3 separate regions of the Homo sapiens genome follow, and all the other regions are linked to region 3. Evidence: promoter capture Hi-C in 16 types of primary human blood cells and fetal thymus (Javierre and others, 2016). All regions are on one chromosome and are shown on one strand. Each heading gives the region's core, a stretch centred on a gene start or on the middle of the fragment in contact. The rest is flanking DNA. Distances are from core to core; before and after follow the strand shown.

What was found. The method cuts DNA at HindIII sites, captures the fragments that hold promoters and counts their contacts. A CHiCAGO score of 5 or more calls a contact.
Region 1: the fragment with the promoter of SAP25 here is called in contact with the fragment with the promoter of ORAI2 in region 3 in 1 of 17 cell types (M0 macrophages); the score reaches 5.1 in M0 macrophages.
Region 2: the fragment with the promoter of COL26A1 here is called in contact with the fragment with the promoter of ORAI2 in region 3 in 3 of 17 cell types (M0 macrophages, M2 macrophages and M1 macrophages); the score reaches 11.5 in M0 macrophages.

Annotation. Positions count from the first base shown.
Region 1 is chr7:100,572,616-100,576,740 of GRCh38, forward strand. It overlaps SAP25 (Sin3A associated protein 25), which reads right to left and starts at 1,285. Exons shown (of 6, transcript NM_001348680.2): 1 at 982-1,285; 2 at 682-785; 3 at 491-597; 4 at 245-398; 5 at 39-136. The coding sequence starts at 1,127. LRCH4 (leucine rich repeats and calponin homology domain containing 4) reads right to left here. Exons shown (of 18, transcript NM_002319.5): 14 at 4,079-4,125; 15 at 3,623-3,708; 16 at 3,256-3,393; 17 at 3,090-3,167; 18 at 1,396-2,689. The coding sequence ends at 2,492. RefSeq lists enhancers at 2,149-2,703, 2,704-3,257. The HindIII fragment of the contact is 23,848 bases long and covers 1-4,125 here.
Region 2 is chr7:101,361,275-101,365,357 of GRCh38, forward strand. COL26A1 (collagen type XXVI alpha 1 chain) reads left to right here and starts at 1,601. Exons shown (of 13, transcript NM_001278563.3): 1 at 1,601-1,916. The coding sequence starts at 1,759. RefSeq lists a silencer at 2,735-2,974. The HindIII fragment of the contact is 2,872 bases long and covers 1,077-3,948 here.
Region 3 is chr7:102,432,256-102,436,171 of GRCh38, forward strand. It overlaps ORAI2 (ORAI calcium release-activated calcium modulator 2), which reads left to right and starts at 1,320. Exons shown (of 4, transcript NM_001126340.3): 1 at 1,320-1,406. RefSeq lists silencers at 780-919, 950-1,729. The HindIII fragment of the contact is 6,966 bases long and covers 1-3,916 here.

The DNA.
Region 1 (4,125 bases), core at 35-2,534, 1.9 Mb before region 3:
AGGCTGGGGTAAGGACAGGGAGGGGAAAGAGCTCTCACCTGCTGGGGGGCCTTGGACAGGTACAGGGGAACACGCTGCCCCCGGGGCAGCAGAGGGTCCGAGAGGAAGACATCTTCACAGCACACCACCGGGAACCCTAGGAGGAAACACCACTAGGGTGGCGGGCTGCGGGCTCCCACCCCTGGGCACTGGTTCCCAGAGGAGTTGGGGCAGCCTTGCGCCCCCGGGGGACCAAGGGAGGTACCTGCATCTGGGGGCGCCTGCTGTCCATTCCAGTGCCCTGTGGCAGGGGCCACGGGCCTGAGACCCCTGCCCGAGGCTGCTTCATACAGCGGCCAGAATGAGGGGTGACACAGCGTCCGGCCTGAGAACGAGGCTCCTGAGCTACAGTTGGCCCCCTAGGGTGAGGAGGACAGAGCACTGGAGCCTCAGGCCACCGCACAGCTCCCTGAGCACCCCAGCCAGTCCCACAGGTTTGCCCCCAACTCACCCACACCGGCCGAGGTCCTGCTTTGGCTTCATACTTGGGGTCCCAGGGCGCTAGTGGAGTCATCCTCGAGGGGGCCACCTCCCAGGCCACCTGGGGGGAACGGGGATCTGGGGGGACGCTTGGGGATTATAACAGGCTCACAGTCAGTGAGAGGCTCTTAGGGGTAGTAGAGGCAGCAGGGCCTGTCCTACCTGGGGCTCCGGGGGGCTGCTCAGTGGCCGGGCCTGGCAGGTGGTGGGGCAGCAGCAGCTGCTCTCTCCAGATCCAGGAAGGGCTACGGGATGGGGGCTGTGGGCTGGAGGGGCAGGGACTGAGGCTGCAGCCACACCGCCCCCACGCACCCTCCCCTGGAGCCCAAGGGTGCCTGGTGCAAGGGAGACCGAGGGACCCAATCTCCAGCAGGGACAATGGAGAAGCCTCCGTAGAGCGCGTGGTGAAGGCATGGAGGCCCCCAGTCGCTGTCCCCCCACGGCTCCGTCCGAGCCCCTCACCTGTCCCATGGGGGTGTCCCCAGCTCCCTGGGGGCGTCCGCTCCGGCGCTCCAGGGCTCGCCCTGGTCCTTGCCCGCCGGAAGGCCTGGTCCCTCGGGCGCCTCCTCCGGGCCCGCGCCCCACCGCGGCGGCGACCAGGGCAACATTCCGCGTTCCCGAGCGCAGGACGGTACCGCCGTGTCCCCGCCGCCCGGCCCGGCCCTCTCAGCCTCCCTCCGCGGCGCGGCGCGAACGTGCCCTCCTGGCGAACCCACCCCAGAGGCCTCGCGGCGACGCTGGCGCCCTGTGCGTCTCCCGGCCACGTGGCGCGTGCCCCCGCCGGGCTCCCGCGGGCGCCCCCTGGCGACTGGGCGGTGAATTCCGGAAACAGAGGCCCCCCCAACAACCCCGCGACGCACGTGCTCTCAGACACAGTTACACCTGAGGGCCACCCAGAGGGCTTCTGGCTTCTGTTTATTGCGGCTGACACGACACCTGCGACACCCGCGGTCCTTCCACCCAGACCCTCGACCCCAGAGGCAGCCAGGCCGGCAGGCCAAGGGTGCCCAGGCCCAGGCCACCCTCACCACGTGCTTCTCTGAGAGCGCGGAGCCCAGGCGCGTCTTCTGCTCCCGGGGTCCCGGGCGGGGTGGGCCCTGTGCCCCCACCTTCACCCCTAAGGCCGGTCCAGCAGGGCGTGGACGACAGCAGCGATGTAGGGGAGGCCCCTTCCCGGGGCCCCCTCCTCTTCCAGGATGTGGTGGGGCTGGCACAGTGACTCCTGGGGGAAGGGGCCGGGTTAGCTTCCCCACGGTGCCCCCTGCGGCTTCCGGCCTGTGGCAGGGGGTCGGGGGCAGACCCGAGCATCACCGTGCGCTCGGGGCTCGGCGACAAATGAGACGCAAGAAAGCTGTCAGCGATAACAGAAGGGAGGTGACACGGGGGGTTGGCGGACGCTCCGGGAGCATGAGAGGCCGGCATCTCAGGAGGGAGATGCTGGTGGGCACAGAGCCATGGCCACAGCCACCAACACGCGGAGCAGACGCGCGCGCGCGCGCACACACACACACACAGGCAGGGCGGCCACGGTCTGTACAGTTTATACACAGAGATAGGGACCCGGCCTGGGCCCCGAACCCCTACAAATATAGATCCTCTCTACAAAATAGAGATAATTTAGCCCCCCCATAGCAGCTGTTGGGGGGGGAAGGGGAGGGCACAGGAGGAAGGGGGAGACTCCAGCTCCTGCCACCCCTCACGGGGTACAGAGGGCAGGGGCAGGGCCGGCGGGGACATGAAGGCACCGTCAGCACTGAGAGGTGGGGACTCGTGGGGCTACTGGAGGGAGGCCAGAGGCTGGGGGCCCAGGGTCTGGGGGCACCAGAGTGGGGCCTCTGAGGTCAGTGTCTGTGAAGGGGGTGCACTAGTGTCTTTGGTTGGGGCTGAAGGCACCGCAGGTGGGGTCGGGTGGAGCAGGGACCTTATAAATAGAGAGGAAGGGAAAGGGGTGAGGGAGGGCCGATTTTGGGGCCTAGGAACCCAGGAGCCGAGTGTAGGTGACATAGAGCAGCAGCATGAGGACCACGTAGAAGACGACGAAGCCGCCCAGACCAGAGGGGGGCCAGAGGGGCGGTAGGGCCTTGCCCCCCACCCGCTTCACGGCCTCCAGCGCGGTCCGCAGCCCCCGGGCAGTGCCCTGGAGGAGATCCGAGGGCGAGCACAGGTCAGCCTGGGGGAGAGGAGAGCAGGTGGACAAGGACAAGGGACAGACGTCAGCAGCAGCAGCAGGACAGTCCCTCCCACCCCTGCCCTCACGTGCTGGGGCCAGAACCACGCCCACATGCTGACGTGCTGGGCAGGGGGAGTGCAGTGCAGGAGGAGTGCAGGGCAGGGCATGTGCAGGACAGGTGACATGCAGGACAAGATGGGGCCTGCAGGGCAGGGGATGTGTAGGACAGGTGACATGCAGGGCAGGGGGCATGCAGGGCAGGGGGCATGCTGGGCAGGGCAGGGGCAGCCTGTGCCTTCATCTGAGAGCAGACATCCGCTGCAAATGGAAGCCCACCATCCATGCCACATGCTCGGCTGAGTCCGGCATGCCACCACTCTTTAGAAAGCAGCCCCCATACCTCAGGCACCCCCATTTTTCGACAGGCTTCTAGAAAACTCTCCACATTCTTCCGAGCCTTGAGGGCACTGAGTTTTGGCTGGGGTGGGTGAAAGAAGAAAATGTGGTAAGGGAGAGGCCACAGGCGCCCCGGCCCATCCCCCACCTCTTCCCCAGCCCCAACTGACCACAGCAGGGGAGGGCACATGGATGAAGGGCACGGAGCGCGGCCGTAGCTGGTTGGCCAGCTGGCACAGGATGACCCCACTGGCCAGAGCCTCGGCCAGGTCCTCAGGCAGGGGCCGCTGCAGCCGGGACTCAAGGACCTGGCAGTGTAGACCACATAGAGCAGGGGTCAGGGAAGGAGAGGCGTCTGGGAGGCAGGGAGAGTGGGGGGCTCAGGGCTAGCAGGGAACTTGTGCCTGTCCCTTCCTGTCCTCAGGGGAGGTGCCAGAGTGGGCACAGAGGATGTGGAGGGAGGCTGGTCCCAAGGACAGCAACACAAGGAGGTGCCCGGCCCAGGCCCCTGCCCACGCAGCTCCCGCCTCTGCTCACCTGGCGCAGCTGAGTCATTAAGTCCTTCTCATCTGGAACCTGGGGGTACCGCCGAGGTCTCAGGACAGAGTCTGGTGAGGAAGGGCCTAGGAGAAAAAGGGGGGCATGGGGCTGCCTCCACTGCTCACCACTGACTCTGTAGCTGGGTCCCAGTGGCCTGGCACCTACACCTCCTGCCTCTCTGCTTGTGGGATTTTTTTTTATTTCATGGAGATGGGGTCTCGCTATGTTGCCCAGGCTGGTCTTGAATTCCTGGGCTCAAGCGATCCTCCCACCTGGGCCTCCTAAAGTGCTGCGATTACAGGTGTGAGCCACCACACCCGGCTTGCTTGTGGGATTTTCAACGCAAAGGTACAAAAGGTACAACAGACCCAGAGGGCTCCCAGGGCAGAAGGGTGATGTAGCCGTTGGTGCTGGCAAGCACTGGGTCAGCACTGGGGAGGGCAGGACACCCACCTGAGCCACTCTGAGAGGAGGAACGGAAGAGGAAGCTGTTTGGTCTC
Region 2 (4,083 bases), core at 351-2,850, 1.1 Mb before region 3:
TGAGCCATTGCCACTGGCCTCTACAATCCTTTTGCAAAATGTGCTCCAGTCCAGCAAACACTTCCATATTTGATGGTTTTTCTCCATCCTGTAGGCATTTTACAGACAGGAGTTTTCAACTGGTCACAGGGGCAGAGCAAGCCTCAGGGCATCTGCACCCTTAGGTTGCTTTTGGAAGAATTAGGAAAAAAGCTCCCAGGCCGGGCTAGGTGGCTCACACCTGTAATCCCAGCACTTTGGGAGGCGGAGGTGGGTGAATCACCTGAGGTCAGGAGTTCGAAACCAGCCTGGCCAACATGGCGAAACCCCGTCTCTACTAAAAATACAAAAATTAACCCGAAATGGTATTGCTTGCCTGTAATCCCAGCTACTCGGGAGGCTGAGGCAGAAGAATCACTTGAACCCGGGAGGCAGAGGTTGCAGTGAGCCGAGATCGCACCACTGCACTCCAGCCTGGGTGACAGAGCGAGACTCCAACTCAAAAAAAAAAAAAAAAGAAAAAGAAAAAAAAAAAAAGGAACAAAATGCTCCTAACCCGGGCGAGTAGAGTACGGGCTGGATTTCTGGTCCCACCTGGGCCTGGAGCAGGGTCCAAGCCCTATGGGAATCCTGCAACATAGAAAAGACCAAAACTTGGGTCCAGGCTGGCCTTGGGCCCAGCATGGGATCTAGGACTCTGCTTTTCTGTTTATAAAAGGTGGGATTGTCCTACATCTTCCTGAAGCCCTTTTCTGGATAGGATGTCTCATGAATCTGTGATTCTAGCTACAACTTTTTTCTTTTTTTGAGATGGAGCCTCACCTTGTCATCCAGGCTGGAGGCCAGTGGCCTGATATTGGCTCACTGCACCCTCCGCCTCCTGAGTTCAAGTGATTGGCTTGCCTCAGCCCAGCCTGTAGTTGAGATTACAGGCACCTGCCACCACACTAGGCTAATTTTTGTATTTTTAGTAGAGACGAGGTTTCACCATGTTGGCCAGGCTGGTCTCGAACTCCTGACCTCAGGTGATCCGCCCACCTCGGCCTCCCAATCTAGCTACAACTTCTCACCCCAACTGACCCTTCCGCCCCTCCCAAAGCTTCTTACCTGGAAGAGACAGCGGGGCAGGTGGGGGCTGGAGGTTAAAGGGGAAGGAGGAGAATCCTGGGAAGCTCTGGTCAGTTTCTCACGGGAACGCAGCGCTTTGATCCAAAGAGCCCTGCACAAGGATCGGAAGACTCGCATTTGTCTGGCTTAACTTTCTCCAGCCTCAGTTTCCACTTCTGAATGGGACCATCGAGGGCAGTGTGGCGAGGATTCACCAACATCGTCCAGGTGAAATTGGCAGACACAGAATGGGCGCTCCGAAAGCATTCGCGGACCCGAAGAAGGTTTGGTTTCAAAGGTTCTAAGGTGTGTAGCGGGGGCCTGGGCGCGAGGTCTGGCTTTCGGGGTGTTAGGCTCCAGGGACCTCCTGCGGAGCTCGCACCCTAGCTCTGCCGCCACTGCCGCCTCCTCGGCCCCGGACCGCCGAGGGTTAACAAAAAAGCCCCACGCCCCCTTTGACGGCTTAGAGCCCACCTCGCCGAATTTGAAAAGGCGGCCCCGGAGAGGCGTGGGCGCCCCCCACACATTTCCAGCTCGCACCCGGGCTCCGACCGCTCGCCCCGCTCCTCTCGCTGTGCTCCCGGCCGGTGCCGCGGGTTCGGTCCGGGCGCCGGTGCGCTCCTGCCGGTCCTCGTGCCCGGGACTCCGGGTCCCCGCGGGCTGCTGCGCACGATGAAGCTGGCCCTGCTCCTGCCCTGGGCGTGTTGCTGCCTCTGCGGGTCGGCGCTGGCCACCGGCTTCCTCTATCCCTTCTCGGCCGCAGCTCTGCAGCAGCACGGCTACCCCGAGCCCGGCGCCGGCTCCCCTGGCAGCGGCTACGCGAGCCGCCGGTGAGTAGCTCGGGGCCGAGGGGCCGGGGGGTGGGGGGAGGGAGCGGACAGCGGGGGCCCTGGCCACTGGGTGGCTGGAGCGAGGCTTGGGGGCTGGAGAGCGGGGCGATCCGGGACTTGGGGGCGCAGGGCAGCGGGGACTGGGGGCTGCAGACACCGGGCAGCTGGAACGAGAGCTGGAGGGGGTTGGGGTGCGGGGCGATTCGGGCCTGGGGGCGCGGGGTGGCGGATGCCAGGGGCAGGGGACACGGGGCAACTGGGACGAAATGGCGGTGGCTGGGGGTTGGGGTCACGGGGGGAAAGACCGAAGGGCCTTGGGTGCAGGGCGATTGGGGGCTGGGGCGCGGGGCGGCGGGGGTTGGGGGCTGCAGACGGGGCAGCTGGAACGAGCGATGGAGGAGGCTGGGGGTTGGGGCCGCGGGGCTGCGGGGCTGCGGGGTTGCGGGGGCTGAAGGTTCGGGTCCGGCTCCGGGGCTGCGGTGGTCTCTGGCCGCGCCCACCCTGTCCCTTCCTTTCTTCGCTTCCCCAACCTTCGCCCCCTCGTTCCGGGCTCCGAGTAGAGGTGGTTCCGACCGCCGTGGCTGGGGCTGGGGCTCTGCCCGGGGCGTTCGGCCGCTCACGTGGCTCTGCCGCTCACCTGCGCGGCTGCGGCTTTGTGTCGCGGAGCAGGTTCTCGGGTGGCCAAGGCCTCGCGTCCCGGGCACCCCTCTCCTATCAGCGGCCCCAGGACACCAGAGGGGTCATTCCCGCCCAGTCTTTGGGGCTGAGGCCGCGGAGGATCCTCGGCTGCGACTCCCCAGCCACCCCGGGACGTGGAACCGGCTGGGATCGGGTGGCTCCGTGGCGGGGTTGGAGAGGGCGCAGGGTCACCGGGCCCGGGCGCCGGGACCCGCCAGGCGTCTCCTTCCTCTCGGCCGGCAGGTGGCGCCATGGCCACCCCCGGGACGCTCAGGGCTGCGGCTCCGGAGCCCGCATTTGAATTTCCCCAGAAAACCATAAGCATGCAAGTAAAAGTTGCCAAACGCCTCGTTTGCATAACTCGCTTGAATTTAGCTTTTCTCATTTAGTGATAACTACAACCTACACAGCTATGACAGCGCTCTGGAATGCACTACCTGTGTCTGTTCCCTCCGTCTCTTTTTTATATTTTAATTTTTTTTTTTTGCAGAGGCAGAATCTCAACTCTGTTGCCCAGGCTTGTCGCAAACTCCTGGGCTCAAGCGATCCTCCCGCCTTGGCCTCCCAATCTCCATTTCTTTTGATCCTTAACAACCCTAGGGTTAAAACATTAGAGTAGTATCTTTCCTTTAGCTGAAGAAACAGAGGCTCAGGATTTGCTAGGCCTAGGAGCCACTCAGGACTGACCTCTTGTGCTTTCTTTCTTTTTTTTTTTTTTTTAATATAGGGTCTTGCTTGCTCCCCAGGCTGGAATGCAGTGGTGCGATCATAGCTCACTGCAAACCTGATCTCCCAGGCTCAAGTGATCCCCCGACCTTGGCCTCCTGTGTAGCTGAGATCACAGGTGTACACCATCATGACTGGCTAATTTTTTGATTTTTTGTAGAGGTGGGATCTCACTGTGTTACACATGCTGGTCTCAAACTTCTGGCCTCAAGAGATCCTCCTGCCTCGGCCTCCCAAAATGCTGGGATTACAGGCGTGAGCCACCACGCCAGGCCCAGATCTGGTGTTTTCTAGCATACTGCTCTGCCTATCAAAGCTAAAAGACAGCTCCTAGTTCTTTTTTTCTCCTTGATATTTACCAAATCAGAGGACTCCAAGATGATTTCTGGCTAATTCCTTAATAACAAGGAGACAGGGATGTTTCATGCTGGGAAGAAATATACAGTCATGGCTGAATAGGGCGGGACCCAGAAAAGCATAAAAGTGCCTCTGGAAAAGTTTGTATGCAATCCTATTTCTCTCATTTTGTTTGGAAATACTTACCCGGGGCTTCTATGAGGAGCATTCTCCAAACACCCACGCTAGTGTGGCCTCTGCACAGTTCCATATGAGGATTGTCTAAAAAACAAGCTTTTCAAGTTACAGAATAATATATACAGCACGATTTCATTTATGAAAAGGAAAATCAGATCTACATCTAGGTAGATAAATGCCTGAAAAAAGTTTCTAGGAAACCATTTCAGCAGTTAATGTTATGAAGAAG
Region 3 (3,916 bases), core at 70-2,569:
CCAGCACTTTGGGAGGCTGAGGTGGGAGGATCACTTGAGCCCAGGAGTTCGAGACCAGCAGAGGCAACATAGCAAGACCCATCTCAATTTTTTTAAAAAATTTAAAAATTAGCTGGACATTGTGGCACATGCCTGTAATCCCAGTGCTTTGAGAGGCTAAGAGAGGATTGCTTGAGGCCAGGAGTTTAAGACCAGTCTGGGCAATACAGGAAGACTCTATCTCTAAAAAAAGAATTTTTTTTTTTTTTTTTGGCTGGGCACAGTGGCTCACATGTATCATCCCAGCACTTTGGGAGGCCGAGGCAGGCAGGATCACCTGAGGTCAGGAGTTCAAGACCAGTCCGGCCAACATGGTGAAACCCCATCTCTACTAAACATACAAAAAAGTAGCCAGGCTAGTGGCGTGCACCTGTAGCTCGGAGGCTGAGACAGGAGAATCGTTTCAACCCCGGGGTCGGGGGTTGCAGTGAGCCAAGATGGCACCACTGCACTCCAGCCTGGGTGACAGGGCAAAACTCCCTCTCAAAAAACAAACAAAAACAAATTTTTTAAAAACTACCACGGTGTGGTGGCTCCTGCCTACATGTAGCCTCAGCACTTTGGGTGACTGAGGGCAGAGGATCACTCGAGCTCAGGAATTCGAGGCTGCATTGAACCGTGATCGCACCACTGCAGTCCAGCCTGGGCGACAGAGCCAGACCCTGTCTCAAAAAAATAAAAAAAAAAATCCTGTGAAAACTCGGGCGTGGCCAGACGGATTCTCCCCTCCCCACCTTCCTTTCCCCTCCACTGCCCACCTGCACCCGCCCGCCCTGTCCCCACTCCCCGCCCCTCTACGCAGCCAGCGTCCAATGCTGGGCACCCCCCGAGGCTCACCCTGCCAAGCCTGGGGCTCCCCTTTTGCGCCCGGACCCAGGGGCAGGGAAAGCCCAGCTCGTGGTCTGTGGGTAGCCGGACCCCCGATGGGGCGGTGGGGGGCCTCGCCTTGACTCCCAGAGCTGGGGCCGGGGACAGGAGCTGGGGCAGGAGGGATGCGCGCGGGTCGGGGTCTTCCCACCTCCCCTGCTCCTCTCCCTCGCGCGATCCCGGGGTGGTTCCAGGTGAGGCGGGGACCCCCACCCCCCCACTCTCCGAGGAGGCGCCGCCAGCCCCGCCCCTCCCGGCCCGGCGGGTGACGTGGCCGCGGCTCTCCCGCGGGTGGGTCACGTGTTGGCGGCGCCTGGTTGCCTTGGCAGCGGCTGCGGCGGCCGCGGGGGCGGGGTGGAGGCGGGGCCGGGGGACCCCGCGCGACCGGCGGAAGGAGGGAGGGGGCCGCGCTCGGCGCCCCGGCCGGGCCACTGGGCCACAGGCCACGCGGCCACGCAGTCCGAGCGGGAGCCGAGCCGGGCGGGGCGAGGGCAGCTCCGGTGAGTGTGGCGGCGCGGGGGCCTGGCGCGGGGAGCGGGGTCCCTGCGGCTGGGGGGGCCGGAATTGGACCGGGGACGCTCGGCGGGGAAGGGGACGACTGTAGGCTGCCCGGGCGCGGTCACTACCCATCCGGGGTTGGTGACCTCCACCCCGCGGGATCCCTGGCGGGGTGCGGCGCCCAGAGGATCAGGGTCGGCGGCGCAGCCGGTTCCGGACACCGGGGCGTCCCTGGGGGAGGGACAGGGATGCAGCCTAGCGCCCCTGGGAGGCCCCCTCCCAGTGCGCCTGCTGGAGAGAGACACTCGCCATTGCCGGTGCCCCAGATGCTTAGAGGAAGTCAAACTCCAAGACCGCCCTCTGGAAATGTGTCCAGTAGGCCAGCCAGGAAGAAAAGCTCATCTCTAGAGAGGGGATCGCGTTATTCTACAAGACCTGTTTTCTCGGACTGCTCATTAAAGCAAAAAAAAAAAAAAAAAAAAAAAAGCAACCCCACAAGGTTCAGTCCCGGAGCATCCTCTAGGGTCTGTGCCACCTGACAGAAGTACAGGGCTCCATCCTGCCCCACCCCACCCCCTGCCTGGGATCCAGTGTGAGGCCCAGACTCTGTCCCTCCCCCTGGGCCACCGGGCCTGGCACACACAGTTGGCATTGGGAACATAAAGGATGGATTTGAACCCCCTCCTGGGCTGCTCCTTCGAGACCTGGAGACCTGTCTCAAGACCCAGCTCCAGGCAGACAGACATCGTTTCCTCCACAATCCCACCCACTCTGGGGACATCTGCAGGGCCTCACCGATGGGGCATGGGAGGCCTGGCGGCTCCCAGGAAGCCACCCTCAGCCCTCACTGCCCTGAGCTCTTCACCTCCACTCTCAGACCTGAGCCCAGCCCACCCTTACTGATGGGGCATCCCTCTTGTTCACCCTTCCTTCCTTTGGAGGCCACCAGGCTCTCCCTTGCGTCCCACTCCTGCCAGTCGGCCAGCCATTTCCCTGGGTTGAACTGTGGTCCCAAACCAGAATGATCTAGCAGTGCCCAGACCGTTCCACTCACCAATTTCTTCCATTCTCCTGTGGCTGGACGCCCAGTCATGCTGCCCAGACCCTCTGGCTCATTCCACAGCCCCAGGCTCCAAGTGTCTTCCACCCACATCTCCCTGCCCCCTCCACCCCCCAGGTGGCAGCCAGTCTTCCCTCCATATCTCCTGGACAAGGAGAGCCACCCCACATGTACACCTGGAGTGGCCTTCCCGTCTCTCGGAATCCTTCCATGCAGGCAGCATCTTGTCTTTGAGGAAAGGTCCCTCTTTTTTAAAATTCTTTTTAGAGGCCAGGCGCAGTGGTTCATGCCTATAATCTCAGCACTTTGGGAGGCCAAGGTGGGCGGATCACTTGAGCTCAGGAGTTCTAGACCAGCCTGGCCAACATAGCAAAACCCTGTCTCTACCAAAAATACCAAAAATTAGCCAGGTATGGTGGCACACACATGTAGTCCCAGCTACTCGGGTGGTTGAGGCGGGAGGATCGCTTGAGCCTGGGAGGTAGAATTTGCAGGGAGCTGAGATTGTGCCACTGCACTCCAGCCTTGGTAACACAGCAGGACCCCATGTCAAAAAAAATTATTTTTAGAGACAGCGTCTTACTCTGTTGCCTAGGCTGGTCTCCAGCTCCTGGCCGCAGGTGATCCTCCCACCTTGGCCTCACAAAACACTGGGATTACAGGCATGAGGCACTTTGGCATGCAAAGGGCCGCTCTGTCCCCTCCCCGGTGTTACCTGCAAGCACCTTTTCCTGGCCTTGGTGTGAGGCAGCCAGTCCTCTGCTCCCTGCCCTCCATTGAAGCCTTTAGCTCAGTGGATGAGGATTGCCCCCCCCTCTTTTTTTTTTTTTTTTTTGAGATGGAGTCTCGCTCTGTTGCCCAGGCTGGAGTGCAGTGGTGTGCTCTTGGCTCACTGCAACCTCTGCCACCACACCCAGCTATTTTTTTTTTTTTAAGACAGAGTCTCACTGTGTCACCCAGGCTGGAGTGCCGCGGTAGGATCTCAGCTCACTGCAACCTCCGCCTCCTGGGATCAGGCAATTCTCCTGCCTCAGCCTCCTGAGTAGCTGGGATTACAGGCGCCCACCACCATGCCCAGTTACTTTTTGTATTTTTAGAAGAGACAGGTTTCCACCATGTTGTCCAGGCTAGTCTCGAACTCCTGACCTCTAGTGATCCGCCCACCTCAGCCTCCCAAAGATGACAGGTGTGAGCTACTGCTCCTGACCCACATCCCCTTACCTTGCTCCCCTACTGGGAGGCCATGAATTCTGGCCTCTTTCATCTTGGATCTTTAAGTACCAAGTGCGCTAAGCACCTGTGTGATGGAGGAGGGAGGACGGAGGGAGCAAAGGTTAGCGTCTCACCCCTCCAGTCTCTGTATACTGCGGTCATCAGACCTGCATGCTCAATTCTGTTAACTATGGGGGTGGGGGGAGAGGAAAAATGCAGTTTCCAAATTACAGCATTTTC